Regions from separate parts of the Homo sapiens genome. Here all the other regions are linked to region 1. The links are contacts of gene promoters, found by promoter capture Hi-C in human tissues and cell types (Jung and others, 2019). All regions are on one chromosome and are shown on one strand. Each heading gives the region's core, a stretch centred on a gene start or on the middle of the fragment in contact. The rest is flanking DNA. Distances are from core to core; before and after follow the strand shown.

Region 1 (4,418 bases), core at 1,335-3,834:
GGCCCCTACAGGCCCACCGCCCCAGTGCTGCCTGTGGCACCCTTGGCAGCAGCAGCGCACAGGCACGGGGCAGATGGTGCCGAGAATGCCACAGGGCCCTGGGATTGGGAGTCCGCAGCCCGGCCAGTTCTCCAGCCAAAGCAAACAGGGTAATGCTGCTGACCGGACCATCCCAGCTGATAAAGGCTGCTCTGTATCTCATTAATTAAGATCTGGAAGCAGAGCAGAGCCCATGAGAGGCTGGCTGGGGGCGGGGGACGACATGGAAATTCCCAGGACTGACCCGGCAGCTCCCAAACACAGATCTCCGGGGCTGCTGCAGGCTGGCCCCAGACTGAAGGTGGGGACACAACCCGGGCTTCTTCCTGTCTGCACTGCCCAAGGGCAGGGAGACAGCGCTGGCCTCAAGGGACTGACCCTGAGCAGCCGTGAGGGCAGATGCAGGTCTGAGCTGTGTCCCTCTGGGGTCCCCCTAGACATCTGGGACTTCTTCCCAGCCATTCCAGGGGTCTGGCATCATCTTTTCAGAAGGCCACTAAAAGGATCCCCTAGGGTCATTCTCAGAGCCCGACTAGAGGCAGCAGCAGGCGGCGGATCTCATGGAGCCCCACCAACCCCCTAGCTCCCACCCAGAGACCTCTCCCTCCTTCTGAACTTCTCAGATGGGACTCCACCTCCTCCTGGAGGCTCTGTGCTGGTCCCCATGGATTCTGTCTGCACCCCACACACACTCCTGGGCAGGCCAGGTCTACACAGCTTTGCTCTCTGGGCCCAGCCCACCACGTAAGGGCAGGGGCCACCTAGAGCCCATGCCAGCGCCAGCCTGAGAGGAGGCAGCGTGTCCCCTCACGGGGTCGTGCCCTCCGACTCCAACCCCCTGCCTGGAGAGCCACCGATTCAGTTTCACCTATGCTGTCACCTCCCCTTCCCGGGCTCAGCCACAGGCGCCCCATGTGCCCTCTTCGGGCATCACATAAACATTCCCAGGTGACGGCCACAGCCCAGCTGTGGTGAGGGGACTGGACAGTCACAGTGGGGCTGGTCCCTCCCTCTTGGGTCCAGACCTTGGAGACGGTGGGGGCAGCCAGTGGACCGTGTGTGACCCCAGAACCGAGCACCCCCAGATGTCCTCACAGCACCAACGAATACTGAGGTTTTGGCTACCCAGCCCGGTGGGCGCAGTTTCCAATGGGGGGGCCTCGGAGGCCTCGGAATCCAGAGGGCAGCGGGCGGGATCTCGGCCAGTAACAGCAAGAATCTGTTTTCCAAAATAAACATCGGGACACGTGCTCCTACAAAGGGTTTCTGTGCCCAGCTGAGAACAAGGGTCACTGTGGAAGCTTAGCCACCCACTAATAGATTATTCTTTCTGGAGCTTTCTATTGTTTATGGCCAGCATGACTGAAATCTGGGCTGAGCAGGCAGCTGATGGGGGGGCCTGTGGCGTGGGAGGCCTGAGAGGGCAGATCCGGGAGCACCCGCCTGGGTGGCCCTGTCCCGAGCGCCTGGCCGTCCCAGGCAGGGGGTGGGCGCCCCTGGGCCGGACCCCCATCTCGGCCTCGGAGGGAGGCTGCGGCCCAGCAGGGGAGGAGGCGCAGCTGGGGATCCCACCAGGGCGCACTCACCCAGGCGCAGCAGCACCGCGCACACCTCAGCCAGGCGTCCCGGGACCGGCGCGGCACGCTCGGGCGCGCTCCAGGAGAGGCCGGCGCGCAGCAGCCGCGCGTGCACGTACTCCCGGCCCAGCGCCTTGGCCTGGGCCACCAGCTCCTTGTCTGTGGGCGAGCGGTCAAAGGCGTCCATGATCTCGGCGGCGAAGACCGAGGAGCGCCGCAGCACCTCCATGGCGGCGACGCGGGTGGGGGGCGCCGCACCTGCGGGCACAAGCGCTCAGCCGGGTGGAGGGAGGCGGCGCGGGGAACGGGGCGCGCGGGGCGCCGGGCTGGGCGTGGCCCTCGGGAAGGGCCGTAGCCGGCGCCGGGTCCGCTCTCGTTTTTTGTGCCCCAAATCTTTAAAAACCCAGCGCCACCTTCTTTCAGAGCCCGAATTCAGCTACAGACATTCCCCGAGGCTGCCAGGGACCGGTGGGGCCGCGGGGAGACGGCGGTTTGCTCCGGGGCCGCCGGGCCCGCCCTCGAAGACGAGTGCGTGGGCGGCGGGGGCGGAGGGCACAGCCCAGCGCGTCCCCCACGGCGACTGCCAGGACCCGGCCCTCCCCGCCCCGGCCCGGGGCCGCCCACCTCCGCCGCTGGCGTCCTGCGCGCGTGTCCCCGGCCTCGCCGTTCCCGTGGCACCCCGGGCACCCCGGCACGGACGCCACGCCCGCCGCGCTCACCTCTCCCGCCGCATGGCGCGGGCGCCGGGGTGGAGTTCTGGCTTCAGGATCTGCTCGCCGCCGACGACGACCTCGACCCTTCCATTCAGACCCGCGAGGACGCGCGCCCCGCCCCGGCGCCCGCCCCGTCCACGCCCGAGCCGGGAGCGCCAGGTCCACGGGGCTTCCCGCGCTCTTGGGGGGCTCCTGCCGCGGCGTCGGGGGCCTGGGCAGCGAGGTGGGCAGCGCGCGACTCCCAGCTGGCGAGAGGCTGGGCTTGGGGCTTGGCCTTCTAAGGGAAAGGCAACCCTGGGGGCGGAGTCGGGGAGACGCTTTCCGAGCTTCCCCGCTTAAGGAGGACCGAGCGAGTTCCCTGGATGCGCCCGGAGAAGGCGACCAGGCCGGAGCGGCCCCCGCAAGGCAGAGCAGTGGGGACCTAGAGCCAGCCCCAGCCGCCTGGGTGTTCCCCGGGGTCCATTTGAAAATTGGGTTGTCTTCTTCGTTCGTAGAGGTTCTTTCCAGAGTCTGGAGACGTGTTCTTGGTCCGGACGCATGCCCTTTGTATTGTAGATGGATTATTGGATTCGCATTTATTGAAGTTATTGCAAATATCTTCCTCTATTTTGTGGTTTACTTTTGCTTTGGATGAACAGGAGTTACTCTTAGTGATGTCCAATTTATCAATATTTTCTTTATGGTTAGTACCTTTTTATTGGGATATCCTCCTGTATTTCCTTTTAGAAGCTTGTTTTAGGGCTCATATTTAGATCTATGATTGATTACATATTAATTATTGTGAATGGTGTGGTACGGGGCTAGAGCTCATTTTTTTTCGTGTAGATATCCAATTGACCTGGCATCATTTATTGAAAAGCATCATTTTTTTTCCACCGAATTGGAGGAGTCCCCAACATCTCAACATAAATCAGCTGAAGAGTGTGTGTGTGTGTGTGTGTGTGTCTCGGAACTCTATCCCACTGGTTTATTTCTTTATCCTTGAATCAACCTCACACAGTTTGAACAATAGGATTAACCAACTTGGCCTAATTCACGTGTGTACAACACTATAAAATACTTATTCTTCCCATGTGCACATAGGATGTTTATCGAAATAGACCATATCATGGACCTTATACAAGTCTCAGCAAATCTCAACGGATTGAAATCTTACAGTGTGTCCTCTCTGAATTAAAAGTCAATAACAGAAAAATTACTGGAAAATCTGCAAATGCTTGGAAATTACATGTCACACTTCTAAATAATCAATGGGTCAATAATCACAGTGGAAGATTAAAATATGTTGACAAGAACAGTGAAAAATAAGACATATCAAATGCTGTACAGTGCAACTAAAACACTGCTTAGAGGAAATTTGATAGCTTTAGAAGAAGGATTGAAAATTAGGCCAGGTGAAATGACTCAGACCTGTAATCCCAGCATTTTGGGAGGCCTAGGTGGGCAGATCACCTGAGCTCAGGAGTTTGAGACCAGCCGGGTCAAAATGGTGAAAACCCCGTCTCTACTAGAGATACAAAAAATGAGTTGGGTGTGGTGGCAGGTGTCTGTAATCCCAGCTACTAAGGAGGCTGAGGCAGGAGAATTGCTTGAACCTGGGAGGCGAAGGTTGCAGTGAGCAGAGATCATCCCACCTGCACTCCAGCCTGGACAACAGAGTGTGATTCCATCTCAAAAAAAAAAAAAAAAAAGGAAAAAGAAAAATAAAATTACTGCTCTAAGCTTCCACTCAAGAAGCTAGAAAAGAACAATAAAACTAAAGATGAAAGGAAATAATAAAAATAAGAGCAGAAATTAATGGAATAAAGCAAAAAATAGAGAAAATCAACAAAGCCAAAAATTGGTTCTTTGAAGAGATTAATAGAACTGATAAATCCCCAGAAAGATTGAGTAAGAAAAAAGATAACACAAATTTCACTATCAAGAATGAAAAAGAGGACATCACTGTAGATACTACAAGCATTAAAGGGATAAAAAGATAGTATGGAGGACTTTTTGACAGTGCATTTGAAATTTTAGATGATACACAACTTACCAAAACTGACACTAAAAGAAATAGAAAATCTGGATAGTCCTACACCAATTAAAT
Region 2 (4,418 bases), core at 1,060-3,559, 350 kb after region 1:
GAGCACTCCTGTCCACCTGTCAGCCTGGGAGCACTCCTGTCCACCTGTGTCAGCCTGGGAGCACTCCTGCCCACCTGTGTCAGGCTGGGAGCATTCCTGCCCACCTGTCAGCCTGGGAGCACTCCTGTCCACCTGTCAGACTGGGAGCACTCCTGTCCACTTGTGTCAACCTGGGAGCACTCCTGTCCACCTGTCAGCCTTGGAGCACTCCTGTCCACCTGTGTCAGGCTGGGAGCACTCCTGCCCACCTGTGTCAGGCTGGGAGCACTCCTGTCCACCTGTGTCAGCCTGGGAGCACTCCTGTCCACCTGTCAGGCTGGGAGCACTCCTGTCCACCTATGTCAGCCTGGGAGCACTCCTGTCCACCTGTGTCAGCCTGGTAGCACTCCTGCCCACCTGTGTCTGGCTGGGAGCACTCCTGCCCACCTGTCAGCCTGGGAGCACTCCTGTCCACCTGTCAGCCTGGGAGCACTCCTGTCCACCTGTCAGACTGGGAGCACTCCTGTCCACCTGTCAGCCTGGGAGCACTCCTGTCCACTTGTCAGACTGGGAACACTCCTGTCCACCTGTGTCAGCCTTGGAGCACTCCTGTCCACCTGTGTCAGGCTGGGAGCACTCCTGCCCACCTGTGTCAGGCTGGGAGCACTCCTGTCCACCTGTGTCAGCCTGGGAGCACTCCTGTCCACCTGTCAGACTGGGAGCACTCCTGACCACCTGTGTCAGCCTGGGAGCACTCCTGTCCACCTGTCAGCCTGGGAGCACTCCTGTCCACCTGTCAGACTGGGAGCACTCCTGTCTACCTGTGTCAGCCTGGGAGCACTCCTGTCCACCTGTCAGCCTGGGAGCACTCCTGTCCACCTGTGTCAGCCTGGGAGCACTCCTGCCCACCTGTGTCAGGCTGGGAGCATTCCTGCCCAGCTGTCAGCCTGGGAGCACTCCTGTCCACCTGTCAGACTGGGAGCACTCCTGTCCACTTGTGTCAACCTGGGAGCACTCCTGTCCACCTGTCAGCCTTGGAGCACTCCTGTCCACCTGTGTCAGGCTGGGAGCACTCCTGCCCACCTGTGTCAGGCTGGGAGCACTCCTGTCCACCTGTGTCAGCCTGGGAGCACTCCTGTCCACCTGTCAGGCTGGGAGCACTCCTGTCCACCTATGTCAGCCTGGGAGCACTCCTGTCCACCTGTGTCAGCCTGGTAGCACTCCTGCCCACCTGTGTCAGGCTGGGAGCACTCCTGCCCACCTGTCAGCCTGGGAGCACTCCTGTCCACCTGTCAGACTGGGAGCACTCCTGTCCACCTGTCAGACTGGGAGCACTCCTGTCCACCTGTCAGCCTGGGAGCACTCCTGTCCACTTGTCAGACTGGGAACACTCCTGTCCACCTGTGTCAGCCTTGGAGCACTCCTGTCCACCTGTGTCAGGCTGGGAGCACTCCTGCCCACCTGTGTCAGGCTGGGAGCACTCCTGTCCACCTGTGTCAGCCTGGGAGCACTCCTGTCCACCTGTCAGACTGGGAGCACTCCTGTCCACCTGTGTCAGCCTTGGAGCACTCCTGTCCACCTGTCAGACTGGGAGCACTCCTGTCCACCTGTGTCAGCCTTGGAGCACTCTTATCCACCTGTGTCAGCCTGAGAGCACACCTGTCTACCTGTTTCAGCCTGAGAGCAGTCCTAGCTACCTGTCAGCCTGGGAGCACTCCTGTCCACCTATCAGCCTGGGAGCACTCCTGACCACCTGTCAGCCTGGGAGCACTCCTATCCACCGGTGCCAGCCTGGGAGCACTCCTGACTACCTGTCAGCCTGGGAGCGCCCCGTCTGCCTGTCAGTCTGGGAGTGCTCCTGACCACCTGTCAGTTTGGGAGCACTCCTGTCCACCTGTCAGCCTGGGAGCACTCCTGTCCACCTGTCAGCCTGGGAGCACTCCTGTCCACCTGCCAGCCTTTCAGCCATGTCCACAAGGCCCTCTGTGACACTCCTGAAGACAGGCATGTGCTCACCTCACACCTCAATCACCTCAAGCACCAGCTGTCTGCACAGGACCTAGCACCTAGGGGTCCCCCCGCCCCACACCCATCTGGAGGCCCAGCACCAGGCCCCAGAGCTGCGGAGAGGGAACACTCACGTGGGTATGTCTGAGAACACCAGGAAGCAGCCCACCAGGAACACCAGTGTGCCCACCACTGCCGCTGGCAGGAGCCAGCCTGTGTAAAACCCTGTAGAGAGGATGGCAGGGGTCCACCATCAGGAACCCAGGCTTGGGGGCCCCAGGTAGGGGTCTGCACAGCCATGCTTGTCCCCTAGGGACCACCCTCAGCCCAGCTTGGGGGCTGGGGCCCTATGTGAGGAGGCCAAGAGGTACACAGCTCTCCCTGGCAGCTCTGGCACGGCCCACCCTCCTGGGCCTCTGCCCTAGACTCTGGACACCCCTACCACATTGACCCCAACACCAGTGCTGCTGGGGCTCCAGCCCACCAGGCTCTCCACCTCTGGATGCCTTCTCCTCAGCCAGCTCACTCCAACCAACCTGCCCGGGACGGACAGAGAAGTCCCTCTACATCCTGCCCACCACAGAGCTGTGGGCCCACCCGTGTTCCAGCCCCAGGGAAACCACGAGTCATTCCGGGTACCTCCCTCCCCACCACCCAACCCCCACCCTGGCCCCTGCCTCATCTGACCACAGCCGCAATCCCTCAGTTACCCCAGGCCCTCAGCATGTACCCCCACTGCCTCCCATAGGGCTAGTCCAGTCCCAGGCCTGGTGTCCTGTCTCCTGCCTGACTCTCTGCTGGCCAAAGTGACTGCTGTGAAACGCAAGTCTGCCTGGAGCCCAGATCCAGCCCTGGCCCTGCTTGCCCCCAGAAGCCCCCAGCCTGGCCGTGCTGTCCCAGGGTTGCTGCTCCAGGTCCTGAGATGGCCGGGTGAGTCCTGGCACACAGGAGCTGTCCCTCTGCCCCGATGCTGTGCCCCGGCTGCCCTTCCATGCCTGCCGGCCCCGCCCGCTGCCCTGGCTGGCTCTATTGTCTGGGTCCACGGTGGGGCTGTGTGTGCGGATGAGAAAGGGCTTTGGAAGTTCTGGGGCACAGAATGAAGGGGTTGGGTCTGACCCAGGATGGGGAAGGGAGGGTGCCAAGAGCTGAGTGGGGTGAGGGCAGCCAGGACCCAGGAGGAACAGCTCTGGGGTTGCCTGGGGCAGATGGCCTGCTTGGAGGAGATGAGAGGCTTGGCCTGGACCCAGGCAGGGGCGACCTCCCTAGGATGGAAGTTCCTGGGGTTGCCCCAGGGCCTCATGGGCCAGTGACATTCGGGGAGGGAGTCAGGAGAGACCCCCACCAGCAGAAGCGGCTCTCAGCACTGTTACTGGAGCATTAGGAGGCCAGGGCCCGGCATCGTCATGGCGCCCAGTTAGAGTGAGTGGGCTTGAGGGGAGCCAGGAGGGCAGCCCGGTCGAGCCAAGAGCTGCGCCCACCGTCCAGGCCCCCACGCACGCTGCCCTCCAGGGGTACGGACTGGCAAATTGTTACAACCTGACACCAAGCTGGGGGGGCCCAGGTGGTCTGGGGGGCAGCGGGGGGGACTCACCGAGCCAGGCGAAGTAGAGGGCCACCTTCTCCCCGAAGTACCTGCGCACGTGGTCCAGGGGCTGGTACTTGTTCCACTTGCCCCAGCGCGCCCAGTGCTGGAAAAGGACTTGGCGCTGGTTGAGGCGTGGAGCCTGCGGGCCCTCTGGGGGCGTCTTGAAGGGGCCCTGGGGGCGAGCGGCCTGTGGGTGGGAGGCTCCCCCAGCTGACCCCACTGGGCACTGTTGTAGGTGCAGGGGCTTCAGTGTGGGACATGGGCAGACAGGCCTGGGAGTCTGGGATTGCTCCATGAAGAAAAAATAGAGTAATGTGGAGGGGTGGGTACAGGGTGGTCCGGGAGGACCTCTCTGAGGAGGGGACATATGTGGTGAGGCCCCTCTGACTCCTGGACTTCGAGGGTTCAGGGCGGGGAAGGGCCTGGAGAGGCCACCCTGAGAGAAGCCAGTGGCGGTGGTCCAGGGTCCAGCACCTTCTCTGGGTTGGAGAGTCCCCAGGCTCGTGTCCTGTGCTGTGCATTCTGGGCCCTGGCTGGCGGGAGGAGCCACCCCAGCAAGGTGGGACACCTGGCATTTCCACACCCACTTTTTCATTTAACCCTCATGACGGCGTTGGGGCAGGACTGGACCCCTGGCCATGCAGCAGTGGGCTCAGGCCTGACCAGGCCCCAGATGCCCTGGCTGCCTGCAAGGCCCCTCCCCTGCTCGGCCAAGGGGGAAGGCTTGGGCGGGTGGGGGAATAAATGGCCTTCTGCTCCCCACAGTGGCTGTTTTCTCAGGGATGATGGTAACGCTGATAGGAACAGGTGCAGCGGCAGCTGCCCTGGTCAGTGCCCGCTTTGGCAT
Region 3 (4,418 bases), core at 544-3,043, 300 kb before region 1:
GAAGCTGGGTTTCTCCCTGTGCCCGCCCCCTACTCCAGGACATGTGTCCAAGCCCTGGCAGGTGGAATTTTGGGGGCAGGGCCTTGGTGGTGAGGAGACCTTCCAGGGGTCTGATAGCATCTCCCATCTCAGAGCCCACCTCCTGGGCCCAGCCTCCCCTCCAGCCCACACAGTGGCATTCCCAGTCCTCAGAGGACAGCTTCGTCCCACAAAGCTCAGAGCCTTGAGGAAGGCCCACTGCTGCCCTGGAACAGAGACAGCATTCAACAGAGGTTGGAACAAGGCTCTACAGGGCTGGGGGCAGAGGGAGGTTCTGTCCAGAATCTGCCTTCAGGACAAGTACAGCCAGCAGGGGCAGCTTAGCCACTTATCCACTGCCTGGGCGAGGCACAGGGCTATGGAGGCACCTACCAACCAACAGTTCTCCAGCCCCAGAGCCCCAGCCCCTGAGGCACAAGGGTGGGTGTGCCAGGAGACAGTTGCTGCGGGCCACCTTAGCTGTCTGGCAGCACAGTGGGTGCTGCCAGGCTCCCTGGGGGCCCCCCGCCAAGCCCACCTGGCCAGCTGGGCCCCCCCCACCTCCCCACCAAGCCACCCACACAGCCTCACATCTCTGAGACCCGGGAGTGGCCCTTTGTTCATAAACGAGAGCTTCCTCGCCGTGGCCGCGCCTCGCAGACATCATCTTTGATGCTCTTTTTCCACTGTTTCGGTGCTTTAATGTTTTCCCTTCAGAGCCGGGCCGAGTGTCTCTCGGAGCCAGGCAGCCGCGCCAGCTGTCAGGCGGTTTCTAGCCTCGCTTCGGTTATTTTAAGCTGATGAGCCTGACGCATCTCATCACTAATATCAGCAGTTTCATTTCTCCTGTTTTCCATTCGCTGTAATAAAATGCTCAGCACAGAATACAAGGAGATAAGCAAGCCATTTCACAAACGCCGGGCCGCCAGCCAGGCCCAGGCACTGGACCCCCTGAACCACCCCACCCTGGCACGAGTGGGCTGGAGGGCAGGGCCCCGGGGAAGAAGGTCAAGGCTGGAAGGGGAGGTCAGCCTCACAGCCAGCCCCTGCCACCGCCCCAGCCCCCCCGTCAGGCTGTTGCAGGCATCACACGGTGGAAAGATCTGGAACTGTGGCCATGGTGTGAGGCCATCCACAAGGTGGAAGCTTTGAGGGGGAGCCGATTAGCCATGGACAGTTGTCATTCAGTAGGGTCACCTGTGCCCCAGCGAAGGGGGATGGGCCGGGAAGGCAGAGGCCAGGCACCTGCCCCCAGCAGGGGCAGAGGCTGTGGGCAGCCGGGAGGCTCCCAGAGGCTCCGACAGAATGGGAGTGGGGTTGAGCCCACCCCTCACTGCAGCCCAGGAACCTGAGCCCAGAGGGGGCCACCCACCTTCCCCAGGCAGGGAGGCCCGGCCCCCAGGGAGATGGGGGGGATGGGGGAGGAGAAGGGCCTGCCCCCACCCGGCAGCCTCAGGAGGGGCAGCTCGGGCGGGATATGGAAAGAGGCCACAGCAGTGAGCAGAGACACAGAGGAGGAAGGGGCCCTGAGCTGGGGAGACCCCCACGGGGTAGGGCGTGGGGGCCACGGGCCCACCTCCTCCCCATCTCCTCTGTCTCCCTGTCTCTGTCTCTCTCTCCCTCCCCCACCCTCTCCCCAGTCCTACCCCCTCCTCACCCCTCCTCCCCCAGCACTGCCTCTGTCACTCTCGCCCACGTGGATGTGGAGGAAGAGGGGGCGGGAGCAAGGGGCGGGCACCCTCCCTTCAACCTGACCTGGGACAGTTTCCCTTCCGCTCACCTCCGCCTGAGCAGTGGAGAAGGCGGCACTCTGGTGGGGCTGCTCCAGGCATGCAGATCCCACAGGCGCCCTGGCCAGTCGTCTGGGCGGTGCTACAACTGGGCTGGCGGCCAGGATGGTTCTTAGGTAGGTGGGGTCGGCGGTCAGGTGTCCCAGAGCCAGGGGTCTGGAGGGACCTTCCACCCTCAGTCCCTGGCAGGTCGGGGGGTGCTGAGGCGGGCCTGGCCCTGGCAGCCCAGGGGTCCCGGAGCGAGGGGTCTGGAGGGACCTTTCACTCTCAGTCCCTGGCAGGTCGGGGGGTGCTGTGGCAGGCCCAGCCTTGGCCCCCAGCTCTGCCCCTTACCCTGAGCTGTGTGGCTTTGGGCAGCTCGAACTCCTGGGTTCCTCTCTGGGCCCCAACTCCTCCCCTGGCCCAAGTCCCCTCTTTGCTCCTGGGCAGGCAGGACCTCTGTCCCCTCTCAGCCGGTCCTTGGGGCTGCGTGTTTCTGTAGAATGACGGGTCAGGCTGGCCAGAACCCCAAACCTTGGCCGTGGGGAGTCTGCGTGGCGGCTCTGCCTTGCCCAGGCATCCTTGGTCCTCACTCGAGTTTTCCTAAGGATGGGATGAGCCCCATGTGGGACTAACCTTGGCTTTACGACGTCAAAGTTTAGATGAGCTGGTGATATTTTTCTCATTATATCCAAAGTGTACCTGTTCGAGTGAGGACAGTTCTTCTGTCTCCAGGATCCCTCCTGGGTGGGGATTGTGCCCGCCTGGGTCTCTGCCCAGATTCCAGGGCTCTCCCCGAGCCCTGTTCAGACCATCCGTGGGGGAGGCCTTGGCCTCACTCTCCCGGATCGAGGAGAGAGGGAGCCTCTTCCTGGGCTGCCCGTGACCCTGGGCCCTCTGTGTACACTGTGACCACAGCCCGCTCCTGGACCCTCTGTGCCCGGCTGGCCCTCTGTGCCCAGCCAGCCTGCACCTGGGGATGCCAAGGCCTGGGGAGGGTGGTTTCACCCAGGCCAAGCCTAAGACAGTCCCTCTGGGCCCTGCTGGGTACCGGGGTGTGACACCACTGGGAGGACAAGATGAGGGGCACCCCTGGGGCCGCCCTGACACCCCCTCGAGGCTCCTGCCCCGGGGGTCCTGGTGCCCCTTCACTGTGGCAGGCGACTGGGGGTTCCCCACCTCGGCCCCTCTCCCGGGGCCTGCTCCCCGGCACCTGAGGCAGCATCCTTGTCAGGGCCGTGCCTTCCTGCCTCAGCGCCACCTCTTAAGGTTGGCCCGTGGGTCACTCAGGACTCAGAACTGGAGATTCTGGGCAAAAGGCAAAGAGCAAAGGGCCAAAAGGCATCCCAGGGAGACGACTGCGGGGGAACCAGAGGGCAGAGGGGCGCTCGTCACAGGGGAGGGGGAGCTGAGCGAGGCAGGAGGGGAGCCGAGCCTCTCCCCCCGTGTCCCGGCTCTTCAGGCACGCCCTCGGGACGCCACCCTCCCCGACCCAGGCGGGAAAGATAAGAGCAAGGTGTCCGCAGCCTGACACTCGTGCCTCAGGTGCCCGCGCTTGTGCCGGACAAGACTCTCACAGGTGGCATGCCTCGGTTTCCCCACTGGTAACAGCACAGGGCACTCAGCAAGGCGCAGTGGGCATGACTGGGGTCCTGTGGGTCCTGACCCAGATGTGGCCACCCCGGCCGCAGTGGTCTTCATTCCAGGATGCCTCTTTTCCCTCCTGATCTATTCACTGCGTTCGCCATTCGGTCATTCCCGGGGCCACCACTCCCACCTCAGGTGTGTGCTTCCCTTGTGTTTTATGAGATATCCCCAACCCGGCTGCTTATTGGCCCCGTCCGAGGGCAGGAGCATAAATAAGAGCCTCTGCTTTGGCGTGGGACCACTGTGAGCTCCAGTCAGCGCTGCCACTGCTGAGCTCTGGGCCTTCGACAGGACTTGGCCCCTTACTGACTTCTCCGTGTGCTTTGGGTCATGGGTGAGGACGCCTCCTGGCAAGGCTGCGTCCTGAGGATTAAATCGGGTCATCTGTGAAAACTACCCAGCCCAGCCCCTGACACTTTTTTGTTTGTTTCTTTTAGTGACAGGGTCTTGCTCTGTCACCCAGGCTGGAGTGCAGTGGTGTGATCTCGGCTCACTCGACCTCCGGGGCTCAAGCAATTCTCCCACCTCTGCCTCCAGAGTAGCTGGGACTATAGGCACGTGCCACCCTGCCAGGCTAATTTCTTCCATTTTTTTTAGAGACAGGGTCTCGCTATGTTCCCCAGGCTGGGCTCAAATGGTCCTCCCACCTCAGCCTCCCCAAGTACTGGGATTACAGGCATAAGCCACTGCATCTGGCCTCCATGACACATATTTTTAAAGTCTGATTTTTAAAGTCAAACTTTTGAAGTCAGATTTTAAACGGACTATTTTGAAAAATATACAAAAACGTTTAAAAACAATGAATATCCCTCACCTAGAATCAATAACTAAGAATATTGACACATTTGCTTTGGGGACTGGGCGGCTGGAGCTGCCATGACAAAGCTCCGCCGACCGAGTGGCTTTTAAACAGAGCCTGCCCTCTCGCCGACTGAGGGCTGGACGTGCAGGATGGAGCTCCGCAGGGTCGGCTCCCCTGTGCTC
Region 4 (4,418 bases), core at 1,136-3,635, 280 kb after region 1:
TCCCCTCAATATTGTGTCTAGGGATCGGGCGGCATGAGGAGAGGGAGAGAGATGGGAGTGGCCAGTTGGAGCAGTCAGAACACACACAGCATTGATTGATTAAGTTCTCTGCCTTGTATGAGCGTGGTTTGTGGCACTCCAAAACAATTACAGTAGTAACATCAAGGATTACAGATCACCATAACAGATACAATGACAATGAAAACGTTTGAAATATTGCTAGAATTACCAAAATGTGCTGTTGGAAAAGAGGCATGGAAAGACCTGCAGAGTTGCCAAAACCTTCAGCCTATAATAAACACAATGTCTAAAAAACCCAAGTAAGAGAAGCACTGTAAGCTGAAGTGTGCCTCTATCTTTGGGCACATGTGTGAGAAATTCTTAGAAGTAGGAAGTGTTAGATCAAAGAATATTGATGTTTTAAATCTCAGTCCACAATCAAATATGTACGCTCTCCAAAGAGACCACACCAATTATTCCTCCAGCCACACCTGTTTTCCCACACTTTTTTTTGAGTCTTCAGATTTTATTTTTGCCAAACTGAGGTGAAATGTAGAATCTTATTCTACTTTTCACTTGCATTTTAAAATACAAATTGAATAAATGTTTCCTGCATTTCCATGAAAGGCCTGCTTGTATCTTTTGCCCATTTTTTAAAAATGGGTTATTAAAGAGTCCTTTAGGAAATACTGTAAACGTAACGTGCTCCTCTTTTCCCCAGAAATGTTTGAGCCTGCCACGTGTGCCATGTTTGTGTTTGTGGTAGAGGAGATGCTTTCATGATTGAGAAGAAGACGCATTTTATACTCTTTTCCCCTAATGTAAATTTATTCATTAAACACAAAAGATTTGTAATAAAATATTTTTTCCTTAAGATTGTTATATAAAGTTTACTAATGAGAAAAACTCCCTTGTCAGTTTATAGTTTAGCTTTGGTTTGAAAATACAGACACTGTAGCACTGCTGTCCAATATGAGCCACATATATTTAAAATTTTCCAACATCTGCCTTAAAAATATAAAAATAAACAAGTGAAGTTAATTTTAATAATATTGTTTCACCCAATGTAAGATACTACCATTTTACATGTAATCCATCCTAAAACTAATAATAAAATGTTTTAGATAGTATTTCTTGTACTAAATCTTCAAAATCTGATGTATATTTTAGACTTACAGCACATATCATTTTAAACTAGCCACGTGTGAAGGCTGTAGTGACATGTGGCCAGTAGATGTTGGCCAGCACAGCTCAAAAGAGTAGTCTATTTCTATGAAAATCCATCAATTTATTCTTTTGGACCTAACATTTGTCCTATCCTCTTTTTTATTTTTTTGAGACAGGGTCTCACTTGGTCAGCCAGGCTGGAGTGCAGTGTCACGATCTCAACTCATTGCAACCCCCACCTCCTAGGCCCAAGCAATTCTCCCACCTCAGCCTCCCGAGTAGCTGGGATTACAGGCACGTGCCACCATGCCTGGCTTATTTATTTATTTATTTTTAAGACGGAGTTTCACTCCTGTTGCACAGGCTGGAGTGCAATGGCGCGATCTCGGCTCACTGCAACCTCTGCCTCCCGGGTTCAAGCGATTCTCCCACCTCAGCCTCCCGAGTAGCTGGGATTACAGGCATGCACCCCCAAGCCCGAGTAATTTTGTGTTTTAGTAGAGATGGGGTTTCTCCCTGTTGGTCAGGCTGATCTCGATCTCTCGACCTCAAGTGATCCGCCCACCTCGGCCTCCCAAAGTGCTGGGATTACAGGCGTGAGCCACCGCGCCCAGCCCCCCATCTTATTAAGAAAATAAATTGTATTTATCTGACACATGTTCTTTAATTAGGCTCTAAGTAAATATTATTCTTTACTCAGCTGTAGAAATATGTGCTGATTGTTTCTGTATTTGTAAAATTAATGTAGTGGCATACTCCACTAAATGTATTAATTTAGTGGAAAGTAGTGAGTTTAGTGGTTTAGTGGAATTAAATGTTAGCATTCCCAAACAGTGAGATACCTATTAAAGGGCAGGTTCTTTTAGATACCATTTTCCTTGATCTTTTTAACAACTTGCAGAAAAGGCCCCAAAACTTAGAAATGTGAATTATTAAAGTTGAGAGCTTAAACAACTAGCCAAGGTGACCCAAATTATATCTGAGCAAGATTCTGAAAGCAGGTATCCTGGCAACAAGTTTGGTGTTCTTTATACAATTTGTTCTCATTATAGGTGCCTATAATGACTCGGATAAAACACAAGTTACGTATTTTCACCTTACCTAGAAATACGTGAATCAAAGAAATAAGCCAGAGAACAGTGTCACTGGAGAATATACTAAGTTACCTTTTCTGTTACTTCCTGAAAAGTAGTGAAACTGACAGAATTAGTTAGTGGAGAAAGAACAAGGCAAATTTACAGGAAACCCTGGACTGCAAGGTCTTTGTTTCTGTCTCATCTGAACTTTCGTGAGACTTTATTTTAGGGCTGGGAGTTTAATGTAATAATATATACTGTAATATATATTAGCAGTAAATACATGTGAGCCAAAGAAAAGTTGTTCCTTATTAGAATATGCTACAAGTCAAATTAAACTGAGTATAAATAAGCTTAATTATAAAATTAGTTTGTGCTAATAAAAATGTAATATGAGCCACATATAATTTTAAATTTTCAGCTTTCAAATGGGATGGAAACATTTCTTTGACCTGACTTTGACCACCACACTCAGTATGGGAGTGCAAATTGTGCTAAACTTAGCTCCCATCCCATGGTGCCAATAACTTCCTATAAGACTGCACTGCTGCCAAGGAAGTGGTGGGCGCCTGTCCTCCACATCTCTGCTCCCACAGCCTTGGAGATGACCCCTGGTCCGCTGCTCCTCCTAACCCCTTCAGCATGGCTCCACTGCAGCGGGTTCCTGTCAGGTGATAAGTTAAAGCAAAGAGAGGAGTAGGCTGCATAAATTGTATACCTCTGTTTATCCATGTTATCCACTGACAATTAGGTTCTTAAAAATTTGTTGACTATTACTAGCAGTGCAGTGAGATGAGCATTCTTGTACATATTTCCTTTTGCCCAGGAAAGCTTTTTCCTGAAGTACGTCTCCAGAAGTGGGATCGTTCGCTCGTGGAGTATTTGCTTCTTAAGCCTTAATAGGCCTTGCAAATGGTGTCAAATAAGGACCTAGTTTTTCCCTCCTACTGTAGATAACCAGTTTTCCCAGAGCCATTGATTGCATCATCCATCTCCCTGCTGATCCACACGACCACATCTGAGGCAGGCAATGTCAGTGTCTGTGGTGTCTGCGTTGGGCCCACTCTGCTGCTCCCTTGTTCTCTGTGTCTGTCCCCGGCACTAGCACCACAGCCTGAATTACTGACACTGGAGAGAGCAAGCCCTCCTCCACGTTGTTTTCTTCAGAGTTATATTAGCTGTTCTTGGTCCTTGATCTTTTGTATAAATTTTGTTGTGTAAATATGATTGTATTTGTAACTATTCTAAAAATGGTGTATATAAATAATTTTTTTTACAATTCAGTGTTTGCAATGCAACATTATAAAAATTACATATAGAAAACTTGTATAAATAAAAATTGTATAAAATCTGGTTGTAAAATTCCATACACACACATACCTTTTGGGATTTAAGTTACATTTGCATTGAATTTCTAGTCTAATTAGGGGAGAATTACTATCCATGATTAAGTCTTTCTTTAGATGACCATGGCCTGTCTCCATTTATTAAGGTCATTTCTGTATTTTGACAAAGGTTTTTATAAGTTCTATAAATCACATTTTTTTTCTTAATTAGATTTTAAAAAATTTTTTTAGAGGGGTGGAGAGGGGACAGAGTCTCACGCTGTTGCTCACGCGGCAGTGCAGTGGCGTGATCTTGGTTCACTGCAGCATCCGCCTCCTGGGTTCAAGCGATTCTCGTGTCTCAGCCCCCCAAGTAGCTGGGACTACAGGCATGCATCACCACACCCGGCTTAGATTTATTTTTAATAGTTTGTTGCTGGTGTTTTGGAAACATAATTGATTGTGTGTATTGGTTTTATTTCCAGAAAACTTACTGAACTTTTTAATTAGTTCTAATAGTGTGTCCATACATCCTCCTGGATTTTCTTCCAGCACAGTTATATTGTCTGTGAATACTGGCAGTTTTGGTTCATTTTCAATTCTGGTAACTTTCTTTTCTTGCCATACTGCCCTGGCTTATATTCCTAGTTGCTATTAGGAATGGGTTAATTAGTTGAGATTCTTCATTTGAATTTTTTTTTTTTTGGAGATGGAGTCTTGCTCTGTTGCCCAGGCTGGAGTGCAGTGGCACCATCTTGTTTCACTGCAACCTCCACCTCCCGGGTTCAAGCAATCCTCCTGCCTCAGCCTCCCAAGTAGCTGGGAGTACAGGCATGTGCCACCATGCCCG

The links. The method cuts DNA at HindIII sites, captures the fragments that hold promoters and counts their contacts. A contact is called where the count stands out against the background at its distance.
Region 2: a fragment that was not itself captured here is called in contact with the fragment with the promoter of BOK in region 1 in 1 of the 25 tissues and cell types used here (lymphoblastoid cells).
Region 3: a contact is called between the fragment with the promoter of PDCD1 here and the fragment with the promoter of BOK in region 1, in 1 of the 25 tissues and cell types used here (heart left ventricle).
Region 4: a contact is called between a fragment that was not itself captured here and the fragment with the promoter of BOK in region 1, in 3 of the 25 tissues and cell types used here (dorsolateral prefrontal cortex, hippocampus and mesenchymal stem cells).

Annotation. Positions count from the first base shown.
Region 1 is chr2:241,556,911-241,561,328 of GRCh38, reverse strand. It overlaps BOK (BCL2 family apoptosis regulator BOK), which reads right to left and starts at 2,584. Exons shown (of 5, transcript NM_032515.5): 1 at 2,336-2,584; 2 at 1,626-1,874. The coding sequence starts at 1,845. BOK-AS1 (BOK antisense RNA 1) reads left to right here and starts at 2,186. Exons shown (of 2, transcript NR_033346.1): 1 at 2,186-2,552. RefSeq lists silencers at 1,562-1,691, 1,742-1,811, 1,842-1,921. The HindIII fragment of the contact is 1,356 bases long and covers 2,200-3,555 here.
Region 2 is chr2:241,202,658-241,207,075 of GRCh38, reverse strand. ANO7 (anoctamin 7) reads right to left here. Exons shown (of 25, transcript NM_001370694.2): 9 at 3,578-3,743; 10 at 2,121-2,211. Among named protein-coding and RNA genes, the nearest start is that of ANO7, 16 kb to the right of the region's middle. The HindIII fragment of the contact is 6,060 bases long and covers 1-4,418 here.
Region 3 is chr2:241,856,269-241,860,686 of GRCh38, reverse strand. PDCD1 (programmed cell death 1) reads left to right here and starts at 1,793. Exons shown (of 5, transcript NM_005018.3): 1 at 1,793-1,924. The coding sequence starts at 1,849. It overlaps LOC124908032 (a long non-coding RNA gene), which reads right to left and starts at 1,615. Exons shown (of 2, transcript XR_007088436.1): 1 at 610-1,615. LOC105373977 (a long non-coding RNA gene) reads right to left here. Exons shown (of 2, transcript XR_924076.2): 2 at 4,411-4,418. RefSeq lists an enhancer at 1,625-2,587. The HindIII fragment of the contact is 28,999 bases long and covers 1-4,418 here.
Region 4 is chr2:241,278,439-241,282,856 of GRCh38, reverse strand. All of the region lies in intron 1 of HDLBP (high density lipoprotein binding protein), which reads left to right. Among named protein-coding and RNA genes, the nearest start is that of HDLBP-AS1, 8.5 kb to the right of the region's middle. RefSeq lists an enhancer at 1,123-1,623. The HindIII fragment of the contact is 3,126 bases long and covers 823-3,948 here.